Regions from separate parts of the Homo sapiens genome. Here all the other regions are linked to region 4. Evidence: promoter capture Hi-C in human tissues and cell types (Jung and others, 2019). All regions are on one chromosome and are shown on one strand. The core of a region is centred on a gene start or on the middle of the fragment in contact, and the rest is flanking DNA. Distances in the headings are between cores, read along the strand shown. Region 1 overlaps LOC105372756 (a long non-coding RNA gene). Region 2 has its middle 95 kb from the start of GABPA. Region 3 has its middle 58 kb from the start of GABPA. Region 4 holds the start of JAM2 (junctional adhesion molecule 2).

The links. The method cuts DNA at HindIII sites, captures the fragments that hold promoters and counts their contacts. A contact is called where the count stands out against the background at its distance.
Region 1: a contact is called between a fragment that was not itself captured here and the fragment with the promoter of JAM2 in region 4, in 2 of the 25 tissues and cell types used here (lymphoblastoid cells and mesenchymal stem cells).
Region 2: a contact is called between a fragment that was not itself captured here and the fragment with the promoter of JAM2 in region 4, in 2 of the 25 tissues and cell types used here (adrenal gland and lymphoblastoid cells).
Region 3: a contact is called between a fragment that was not itself captured here and the fragment with the promoter of JAM2 in region 4, in 4 of the 25 tissues and cell types used here (H1 embryonic stem cells, dorsolateral prefrontal cortex, lymphoblastoid cells and 1 more).

What each region holds. Positions count from the first base shown.
Region 1 is chr21:25,862,882-25,865,581 of GRCh38, reverse strand. It overlaps LOC105372756 (a long non-coding RNA gene), which reads right to left. Exons shown (of 3, transcript XR_007067828.1): 2 at 1,256-1,439. Among named protein-coding and RNA genes, the nearest start is that of GABPA, 130 kb to the right of the region's middle. The HindIII fragment of the contact is 5,320 bases long and covers 1-2,700 here.
Region 2 is chr21:25,828,646-25,831,345 of GRCh38, reverse strand. No RefSeq gene overlaps it. Among named protein-coding and RNA genes, the nearest start is that of GABPA, 95 kb to the right of the region's middle. The HindIII fragment of the contact is 4,908 bases long and covers 1-2,700 here.
Region 3 is chr21:25,791,291-25,793,990 of GRCh38, reverse strand. No RefSeq gene overlaps it. Among named protein-coding and RNA genes, the nearest start is that of GABPA, 58 kb to the right of the region's middle. The HindIII fragment of the contact is 4,893 bases long and covers 1-2,700 here.
Region 4 is chr21:25,637,868-25,640,567 of GRCh38, reverse strand. It overlaps JAM2 (junctional adhesion molecule 2), which reads right to left and starts at 1,310. Exons shown (of 10, transcript NM_021219.4): 1 at 680-1,310. The coding sequence starts at 746. RefSeq lists enhancers at 328-397, 300-800, 1,538-1,677 and a silencer at 1,128-1,317. The HindIII fragment of the contact is 5,846 bases long and covers 309-2,700 here.

The sequences.
Region 1 (2,700 bases), core at 22-2,521, 230 kb before region 4:
GATGCTATACACATTCCCAAAACAACACACACACACACACACACACACACACACACACACACACACACACACACAGAGAGAGAGAGAAGAAGGCTGGAGGAGTATGCTGACAACACAGCACGAGCTAGAAATGTGACCTTTCACATGAAACTTCTTGGTTTTATTTTAATTAAAGAAAAGTGTTTTTATTTTTATAAAGAAATATTCATATTCTTTCTTGGTTTCAGTTTGAAATGGTCATCATGTCTAAGCATTATGAAAATCACTAAACCAGACCAGAGATAGGATTTAGAACCATCCTGAAATAAATATTTAAGCTGAACATAATTAGCTTCATGATATATGTATTTCATTTTTTGTGTAAAGGGATGGCATTAACAGAAAAGGGGCAAAAGTTCTTATTAAGTAGACAGCATGTTCTACCGTGAGATGGAGATTAGGGTTATTAATATGAACCCCTGTCAAGAAGAGTCTGACAGTTCTTTATACAGGAAAAATAAGCCAATATTCTGAGCCCCAGGCTAAAACTTTGGCTTTTGGCAACATAGAGAACTGAAGCTTAACGCTGTTGAGAAAGGAGAATCCAGTTTCAAGAGCACAGGGCAAAAAAACGAGTTCATTGCCCAGGTCTGCCTCTTATGAGTGGACCTCTCTAGAATTCAATTTTACTCTTTCTGAAGAAGAGAAGCAACAAAGACTTAAAGAGATGAGAAAGAAAAGTATAGCAAGAACATCATCAGCTAAGGCACATTATTTTAAAATTGAAACAGTACTGTATTCCTGGTTTTGATGACTGTGCTATAGTTATGTAAAATGTTGTGCTATAGTTATACAGGGGAAGCTGGATGAAGAGTATACGGAGTACTCTATTCTATTTTTGCACCTTTTTTAAAGTCTAAAATTACTTCAAAATGCCAGCCACAGTGGCTCATGCCTGTAATCCCAGCACTTTGGGAGGCCAAGGCAGGTGAATCACATGAGGTCAGGAATTCAAGACCAGCCTGGCCAACATGGCAAAACCCCATCTCTACTGAAAATACAAAAATTAGCCAGGCATCATGGCAGGTGCCTGTAATCCCAGCTACTCAGGAGGCTGAGGCAGGAGAATCGCTTGAACCCAGGAGGCGGAGGTTATAGTAAGCTGGTATCTTGCCACTGCACTCTAGCCTGGGTGACAGCACGCGACTCTGTCTCAAGAAAAAAAAAATCACTTCCAACTAAAAGATTTAAAAAACATTATTATATGGTATAATACCTTAAAAAGCAGTTGGCAGAGACTCATGGAAATCCAGGCACAGTCTGTGTGAAACTGTCTCACGGTCTCTTTTCAAGGTAATCTTTGTGGCCACTGTCATTATTTGTAAATAGTTGAACACTGTAGTCCTCCTTATCTGCAGTTTCACCTTCCAGGGTTTCAATTACCTGTGGTCAACCATGGTCTGAAAACATTAAATGAAAAATTTCAGAAATAAACAACTCATTAGTTTTTAATTGCACGTGGTTCTGAGGAGAAATCTCAGATGAAATCTCATGTTGTCCTGCTTTGTCCTGCCCTGGACAGGAATCATCCTTTTGTCCAGCAGATTCACACTGTAGACACAACCCACCCATCAGTCATTGACACTGTCTGTTTCTGACTCCCAACCTTCGTCATCCTTGTGGCTTAATGATCCAGAATCACCTGAAGCAGATGATCCTCCCTCTGACAATAGGTCAGAAGGTCAATAGTAGCCTAATGCTAAGTCACAATGCCTACGTCATTCACATCACTTCATCTCAGCACGTAAGCATTTTGCCATCTCACATCTCACATCATCACAAGAAGGGTGAGTACATTACAGTAAGATATTGAGAAAAAGACCATGTTCACATAACTTTTATTACAGCATATTGTTACAATTGTTCTATTTTATTATGTTATTGTTGTCAATCTCTTACTCCGCCTAATTTACAAATTAACTCTCACAGGTATGTATGTATAGAAAATGTGCACTGTGGGTCTTAGAAGGTATGTCCCTCAGATAAGGGGGGACTACTGTACTCTCATAGGGGCTCAATAGTCATTGCCAATGAAGAAAATCTGAAGGTGTCCCTTTGAACCAATTTAGATTGAAATGACACAAAACATAAACTAAGGAAGAAGCAATTCATCAAAAACAATGGTATACCAGATAACTTAGAGACTGAGAAAGAAAAGTTAAACTCACTATGTGAAGTATTTTATTAACACTCTTTTAGGGGAAAATCAATTTGGTTTAAAACAGAAGGAATTTGGTATCTTCAGGCCCTATTCATTTTTGCATGGTCTTTGTAATCAGATTTCTGGCCAGTCTGCTGTTTACTTTCAACCATCGACCATGTCCCTCTTCTATGCACTGATTTTGAAATTTCATTAATGTTTACCAGCTCTCTCACATGGCAATTATGTTAAGTATTTTTCATAGAAGACTTTAACATATAATTTTAATTTTCTGAACTATTAGCCTTTTATCAACTCCCAAAATTACTTGATTTGTGTTAAGAAAACACATACATTTTATTCTAAATACTCTTATACAGATGTACCATGTAATAGTTTCTTGGCATTCTCAGTTTTCTAATTATTAAAAGTTTATACCCAACATTAAATGCATGTTCTGTTGCCCCAAATTGTGGTACAAGTCACCTGGGAACAGAAATACAGGTCAGTGCAGAGGCTAC
Region 2 (2,700 bases), core at 53-2,552, 190 kb before region 4:
TCACTGGCTGTAGAAGAAACTTTGGGTTTCATTTTTATTGATATCAGAAGCCACTGTATATATGAACTGAATTATGCTTTAAAACTATCTTTTGTTTTTTTTTTTTTTTTTTTTTTTTTGAGATGGAGTCTCACTCTGTCATCCAGGCTGAAGTGCAGTAATGCAGTCTCGTCTCACTGCAACCTCTGCCTCCTGGGCTCAAGCAGTTCTGCCTCAGCCTCCTAAGTAGCTAGGACTACAGGCGCATGCCACCATACTCGGCTAATTTTTGTATTTTTAGTAAAAACGGGGTTTCACCTGTTGGCTAGGCTGGTCTCGAACACCTGACCTCAGGTGATCCACCTGCCTCGGCCTCCCAACGTGTTGGGATTACAGGCGTGAGCCACTGCGCCTAGCCTAAAACTATCTTTCTAAATTCCATGTAGAGAAGAGGCCGCAGGGGATGTATCAGTCAGAGTCCAGTAAGGAATTAGAAATCCCCCTAGGTATTTCAGGACAACCCTGATTGGAACAAAAAAGGAAAATGGGAGTCTTTTCTCCTTCCTCCTACTTTCTTGTCTCCCTGTAGTGCCCCATTGTCAGAGCTAGCAGGAAGCCAGAGGGCAAACGAGGAGTGTAGTCTGTTCAGAGCAGGCTCCAGAAAGTTTTGCATCACTTAGAGGTGAAATAAAATGCAAGTCAAAGAGAAATCCACGAACAATGGCTTAAATAATTAAGGTTTTTATGGTGTTTTCTTCATTATTATTATTATTACTATTATTACTATTTTCAAGATGAGTCTGGCTTTGTCACCCAGGCTGGAGTGTAGTGGCACCATCTCAGCTCACTGCAGCCTCCGTCTCCCAGGTTCAAGTGATTCTCATGTCTCTGCCTCCTGAGTAGCTGGGACTGCAGATGCACGCCACCACACTGGCTACTTTGTGTGTTTTTAGTAGAGACAGGGTTTCACCATGTTGGCCAGGCTGGTCTCGAACTCCTGACCTCAAGTGATCTGCCTTCCTCAGCCTCCCAAAGTGCTGGTGTGAGCCACCGTGCCCAGTGTATTATTATTTTAAAGTTAAGGTCTTGCTCTGTCACCCAGGCTGGAGTGCAGTGGCACTATCACAGGCTTGAAATCCTGGGCTCAGGTGATCCTCCCAAGTAGCCTACTCTATAGGCTCACACCACCATGCCCAGCTAACTTTATTTATTTATTTATTTATTTATTTTAGCAACAGGGTCTCAATTTGTTGCCCAAGCTCATCTTGAACTCCTGGCTTGCCTCCCTTAAGTGCTGGGATTACAGGTGTGGGCCACTGTGCCCAGTGATTTTTGTAGAAAGAAATGTGGAGGTTGGTGAATGTTAGCGTTGGTTCAATTATTTCATGGTGTCAGCCCATGTGTCTTTGAGATTATTCGGGATTCTACAGTTCCAGGCCTCACATTCAGAACACCCAGAAGAAGGAAGGGGAGGCACCAGCTACCAGAAACCCTTGATCATAATTTTGCTGACCACTCATTGACCACAATTGTGTCACATGGCCACCCCTAGCTGCAAAGAAGAATGGGGAGGTGAGTGCTACTTTTTCTTGCTTCTCTAGTGGATATTGCCAAGAGAAAAGGAAGTAGTACATTGGTGTTGAGGCAGACAGTTGTGGCCACTATCTCATCTAAGGGGCGTCAAGCTTTAGAACTGATGTGGATAAGAGTAGAGAATGCTGTGAAGGACTCAATAAACAAGGTTATCTAAAGATGTCCATTAAGTACAATAAGCTTCTACTAGGCTCTAACCAATGTAGTAGATGCTAGCAGCCACTTGTGGCTGTAGCACAAGTGAAATGTGGCTAGACTGAATTGAGGTGTGCTGTACATATGAAGTATGCACCAGATCCTAAATCATAGTGTATAGAAAAAGAACTTAAAACGTGTCTTAACAATAATTTGTTATGTTGATTACATGTTGAAATGATGATACTTTGGATATACTATAAACATTTATTTCATCTGCTTTTTAAACTGTGTTTCATGTGGCTTTTAGATAAATTAAATTATGTATGTGGCTTATTTTGTACTTCTATTAGATTGTGTTGCACTAGATTATTTAATAACCCTTTCTTTCTCTAAAGAGAGTCTCTGTTACCTGCCTCTAAGCCAAATTTTCCTCTTCTAAGGGTGCTAATTGTCATGGTTTTCTAAGTCTGGACAGGTCTTACCAGAACAGCCTTCCCCATGACCTGATAGCTCCAAAAGGTACCTTCTAGTGATGGGTTGAAAAAACAAGCCAAATTCTTTTATCAAGAAACCTGCCATGACCATCACATATATTTCAACCTGAGGTAGATAAGAACAAGTATAATAATGAAGTCAAGGAAAAGATTCCAGACAAGGATCAAATTATTCAGTATCAGCAGCACCCTGAGGCTATCAAATGAGACAATCTGAATAATTGGTTGGAGTAGGGAGCCCAATTTAAATTAGTCCTTTACTTAATCCTTAACCTTTTTTTTTTTTTTTTACTGGAAGCAAGGAATCATGCAATTCCAATTTTGCCCCATCGTTTTTCATGACTTATATTAAAAATTTCCTCAGTGGCTCTGGTGAAAAAAATGAATGAATTGGAACATGAAATCTATAGTCAATCTGTGGTGTATATGTCCTAATCCCAATAACCTATTAATATGTTACCTTAAAATTGCTAAGGGGCCGGGCGCGGTGGCTCAC
Region 3 (2,700 bases), core at 35-2,534, 150 kb before region 4:
TTTGACTGGTATCCTTAATAACGGGAGGAACTTCCGATACAGACAAGCAACAGAAGGAAGATGACATGGCCAAGTGTGGCGGCTCATGCATATAACCCCAGCACTTTGGGAGGCCGAGGCAGGCGGATCACCTAAGTTCAGGAGTTCGAGACAAGCCTGGCCAACATGGTGAAACCCCATCTCTACCAAAACATACAAAAATTAGCCAGGCGTGGTGGTATGTGCCTGTAATCACAGCTACTCAGGAGCTGAGGTGGGAGAATCGCTTGAACCTAGGAGGCAGAGGTTGCAGTGAACCAAGATAGTGCCATTGCACTCCAGCCTGGGTGACAAAGTGAGACTCTCTCAAAAAAAAAAAAAAAAACAAAGGAAAGGAAGGAAGGAGAGAGAGGGGAAGGGAGGGAGGGAAAGAAAAAGAAAGATGATGATGTGAAGACACATGGAAAAGAAATCCGTCAAAAGTCAAGGAGAGAGAAGTGTGTAACAGGTCCTTCCCTCAAGACCTAAGAAACCAACCGTGATTTTGGATTGCTAACTTCCAGAATTGTGAGGAAATAAATTCCTGTTGTTAAAGCCACCTAGTCCATAGGACTTTGTTATGGCAGCCTTAGAAAACTAGAACATTGTTATTGTTTTGTAATTTTACCCTTCCATGAAGTCCCCAAATCTTGGGAATCTCATCTCAATTCATTAGGGGCCAGTTTTGTCTTGCACATGGGGAAGCAGGGGTCACATAAGCTTCTTTTGTATCTCTCTTCACACAAAGTGGGCAACACATCAAAATTTGCTGAAAGCTTGGGATACAGAAAAATATCCCCAGAAAGATCACCAGGGAAATTCTAGATGAAGAAAGTGCTTCATCATGGTCCCAGCAGACAAACTGAAAACTATCTTACTCTCAATATTAAAATCAAATTTGACGAACAAGATTCATGTTGACAGAATTTACTTTACAAGGATGATTTTCCTTTGTAGTGTTTATTCTGTCAACAGGTATCAACCCTTCCTCTCTTTTTTTTTCGTTTTCTGTTTCACCCTTGTCATGACTATTATCCCCCGGACTCAGGGAATTTTCTGTCTCTCCTCTGTGGCTTGAAGTTACCACAGCAGATACCAGGAGTCTTCCTAGCCACGTAATCAAGGAATTTCATTCAAGGTCCATTTTCCATCATGTCCTGGTGGAGTCCACAGAAACCTGGGTTCTCCCTGTGCCTTTCAACTCGTTTCAGGCTGGCTGTGGTGGCTCACGTCTGTAATCCCAGCATGTTGGGAGGCCAAAGTGGGAGGATCACGTGAGCCCAGGAGTTCAAGACCAGCCTGGGCATCATAGGAAGACCCCATCTTTACAAGTAATTTAAAAATTAGCCAGACGTGGTGGTGCACACCCGTAGCCCCAGCTACTCAGGAGGCTGAGGCAGGAGGATCACCTGAGTCTGGGAGGTTGAGGCTGCAGTGAGCCTGTTCACACTACTGTACTCCAGCATGGGCAACAGAGCCAGACCCTGTCTCAAATAAATAAATAAATAAATCTCTTTTAATTAATGCAAATCAAAACCACAGTGGGATACCATCTCTCACCAGTCAGAATGGCTATTATAAAAAAGTAAAAAAATAACAGATGCTGGTGAGGTTGCAAAGATAAGGGAATGCTCATATACATACATTGCTGGTGCTCATGTAAATTAGTTCAGCCACTGCAGAAAGCAGTTTGGTGATTTCTTAGAGAACTTAGAATTACCATTCGACCTTAGCAATCCCATTATTGGGTATATAATTAAAGGAATACAAATTATTCCACCAGAAAGACGACATGCATGTGCATGTTCATTGCAGCACTATTCACAGTACCAAAGATGAGGAATCAATCTGAATGCTCATCAATGGTAGACTGGATAAAGAAAATGTGGTACAATATAGCATGGAATACTATGCAGCCATAAAAGAAGAATGAGATCATGTTCTTTGCAGAAACATGGACAGAGCTGGAGACCATTATCCTAAGTGAACAAAGGCAGGAACAGAAAACCAAATACTGCATGTTCTCACTTATAAGTGGAAGCTAAGCATTGAGAACACATGGACACAAAGAAGGGAACCACATACACCAGGGCTTAGTTGAGGGTGGAGGGTGGGTGGAGGGTGAGGATCAAAAAACGACCTATCAGATACTATGCTTATTACCTAGGTGACAAAATAATCTGTACATCAAACCCCCTTGAAACATAATTTACCTGTATAACAAGCTTGCACATGTATCTCTGAACCTAAAAGTTAAAAAAAAATTTCATTGCCTCAGTGGCTGTTTTGAGAGCATTAAGAGGCTATGAGAGCATTGAGAGGCCCATTTTCCCCCTCTTCCTACCCATCTCAGACCCATCTCATTTCCCCATGAAACTCTGCCTCATACTTCTGTCTGAGCACTCTGAGCCCTACCAGCATGGTCCTTTGGCATCCAGAGCTGTTGGTGGCGCTGAAGGACTGAACACTCCTGCTTTTTCTCAGGCAGAATTCCAATGAAATGTCCCCACACTGATCACTGTTATTGGTTCATAGGCATAAAACAGAAACAAGGATTCTTAGTTGGTGTGTATTGTACCAATGACATCTCACAATCTTGCCTTGAATTTCTTTCAGCTTGGCAAAAACCTTTTCTTCACTGGGCATCCAATATCTTACTATAAAAAATTGACTTATAGATCC
Region 4 (2,700 bases), core at 61-2,560:
CGTCTCCCCAGCTACTGGATCATGTGGCTTCTGAATCTTTCTAACAATCGTCCCGTTGGATGTCCCCTGAGGACAGAGCAGCTGGCTAGAGTCCCCAGACCAGACTTCTCTAAGTGAATGTAGATGTGCAGGTGGAGAGGATAAAAGTAATTCTGGCTCAGCAGCCACGAATTCCCTCCACCTCCGCCCCACAAGTGCGCTGCATATCGCCGGCTCAGCTGGGACGCTACAGAGCCCAGACCACGCGGACGCTGCCCCCTCCCCGGGGACTCAAAGTGTGGCCGGCGCCCGCCTCCCAGTGATGCCATCTTTCTTGGGGTCTTAGCATCTTACCAGTGGGTAGTGAGTTTTGCATTCGAATCACGTCCCTCTGTCTGAAAACTTACCCCAACTTTGCAAACAGATGAGAACCTGCTAGTGGGAACCCTTAATTTTCTGTATCTAGAACTGACAAAATCAGACGCAATTCACAAGAAACCCACGACCTCGCGCTCCCTTGCTCCCAGCGTCCGCTCGCGGGCACCCTGGGTTTCCCGCTCGCCTGGGCGCAAGGTCAGACGCCCCGCGGCGACCTCGGCCCAGAGCCGCCCAGACACTGTCAGCCAGCGCCCCGTGGGGGGCTGGAGGGTGGGGGCAGGCTGGTCCAGGCAGGAAGGGTAGAGGAACCCGAGCAACTTACAGCCCAGGGCGACCACCAGGTAGCGCAGCAGCAGCAGGAGGAGGCGGTGGCGGCTCCTCCTCGCCATCTTCCCGGGGCGGCAGCCGGCTGCTCTGAGGAGGTCGAGGGTCCCGGCGGCAGGAGCGCAGGAGGCCGGGGGCCCTTGAACTTCTGGGGCGGGAAAGGAGCAGAGAGTCGGGAGGGGAGGAAGAGGAGGGACGGCTCTAGATGGGATGTCAGTTTCCCCCTCCCCGGGGCGCCTTCTCAGCTGGCTGCCAAGAGGCGGGTCCTCCAGCCCAGGGATGGGGGTCTGTTCTGTTTTGGGGGTGTGGGGGTAGGGGCTAGAGGGCGTGAAAACCAGACGAGGCGTCCGCCGGGTCCTAGCGAGGGGGCAGCAGGAGGAGAGCAGCGCCCGGGAAAGCCCCGGCGGGTCGTCCCTCCGCCCCCACGCCTCCGGGATTGATCGGCTTTGTGTCTGGTCCGCGCGGGGCTGCCAGCTGTCCCCAGGGCGAGGAGCTGGGGGCGGGAGGCGCGGGCAGGCTGGGGGTGGGGGGATTGGGTGTCTCGGGGACGGGGATGTATGCGGGTAGGGAAACGCCTCCTGTTTTGCCCCAACTCCTTTCTTCCCCTCGTTGGCTCAAAACTTCTTTCTGGCTTTTCAGCCTAGGGGTGGAGATATTTGGAAAATTCTGCCCAACGGGCGAAGCTGAGGGGGTGGCGCTCTGAGGAGATGGGGTTCGCGGGCTCCGCCTCGAACTCGAGAAAAAAAAAAGCAATCAAGACTCGTGCTGGAAGTCAGGTCTCAGATTTTAGTACAGCCTTGGTCCCTTCTCAGTTTAAGCTTTTTGCTCCTTGGAGATTTGAGGTGCATTTGTCTCGCGTTCTTGTTCTTTGCTTTTTTTTCAGTGTCAGAGTTGGAAGTTCATCTAATGGTGTGAAATATTTATCATGTTTCTTTCAAGTTACATAACTGCTGCTTGTGGAGTTTTCCACGTGTTAAAACTCTACAGCTGCCCTTTGTCAGGTTTATTTTTGGTCTACTGTGCTTTTAAAAGGGAAACCCATTATGAATGCTCTGTTGCGTGCTTTAAAATTGCACCACACTTACATTGGACGCACGTACACTGGCAATTTTTATATTTGTTCCTAGGGACCAAAAATGTATGGTGTATTCAAGAGTATTGGCAGGTCTGGAAAAAGGCCATTCCCAGGAGAAGAAATTAGTATACATCAGTTTTTTTCTTTTGTTTTTTTGTTTGTTTTTGTTTTTGTTTTTTTTTAAAGGTTGAATAATGGATGAAGTTCTGTACAGCAGATAGTTGATTTAGTGGTGTATTTAAAAAGAATTCAGCTAGCTCAGTGGACAAAGGCGACCAGAGTTTAGCTGTGCAGAACTGTGAGGAATGAGGCATCCTTGCTGTTGCCGTGGTGACAGTGATGAAAACTTAGTACCCAGGGAGGGGGTGGGAGGAGAGGACCCAGGGGACCCAGAAAGGAAAGTCAAAATGGCAAAATGTTAAAACTCGTACTCCAGTCAACCGAGGAGAAGGGGCACAGATTTAACAACAGCTTATGCCAGTTTTTCTGGGCAGTAATGAGAAGGATTTGATGCTTAAAAAGAAAAGTTGTTGGCATCTTCTTTTTTCTAATTCTTGCTACAGCTATATGTCTTTTACTCCTCCCTAAAAATATACACAAAAATGTCATACTTAAAAAAATTCTATGCAATCCTATGTGAGTAACTGACTAAGTTATTTATTTGCCACCCAGCCAAGGCATTTGACAAATGGCAACAATGTGCTGGATGCTGAAGGACAACCATGAACAAGATAGAGGCTTTCTTGCTAACAAGCTCACAGTCTTGAGGGGAGACAGAGTCTTATCAGGAAAGATGCCTGATACCACATGGTAAATGTTACAGGAGGACAGAAAATAATAACAGCTATTTTTATTGCATGCTTTCTCAGTGATGGAGTCTGAATAACGCAATATCTAATCCCCCAACAACTCCATAAAAGAGGAAATGTTATCATTCCCACTTT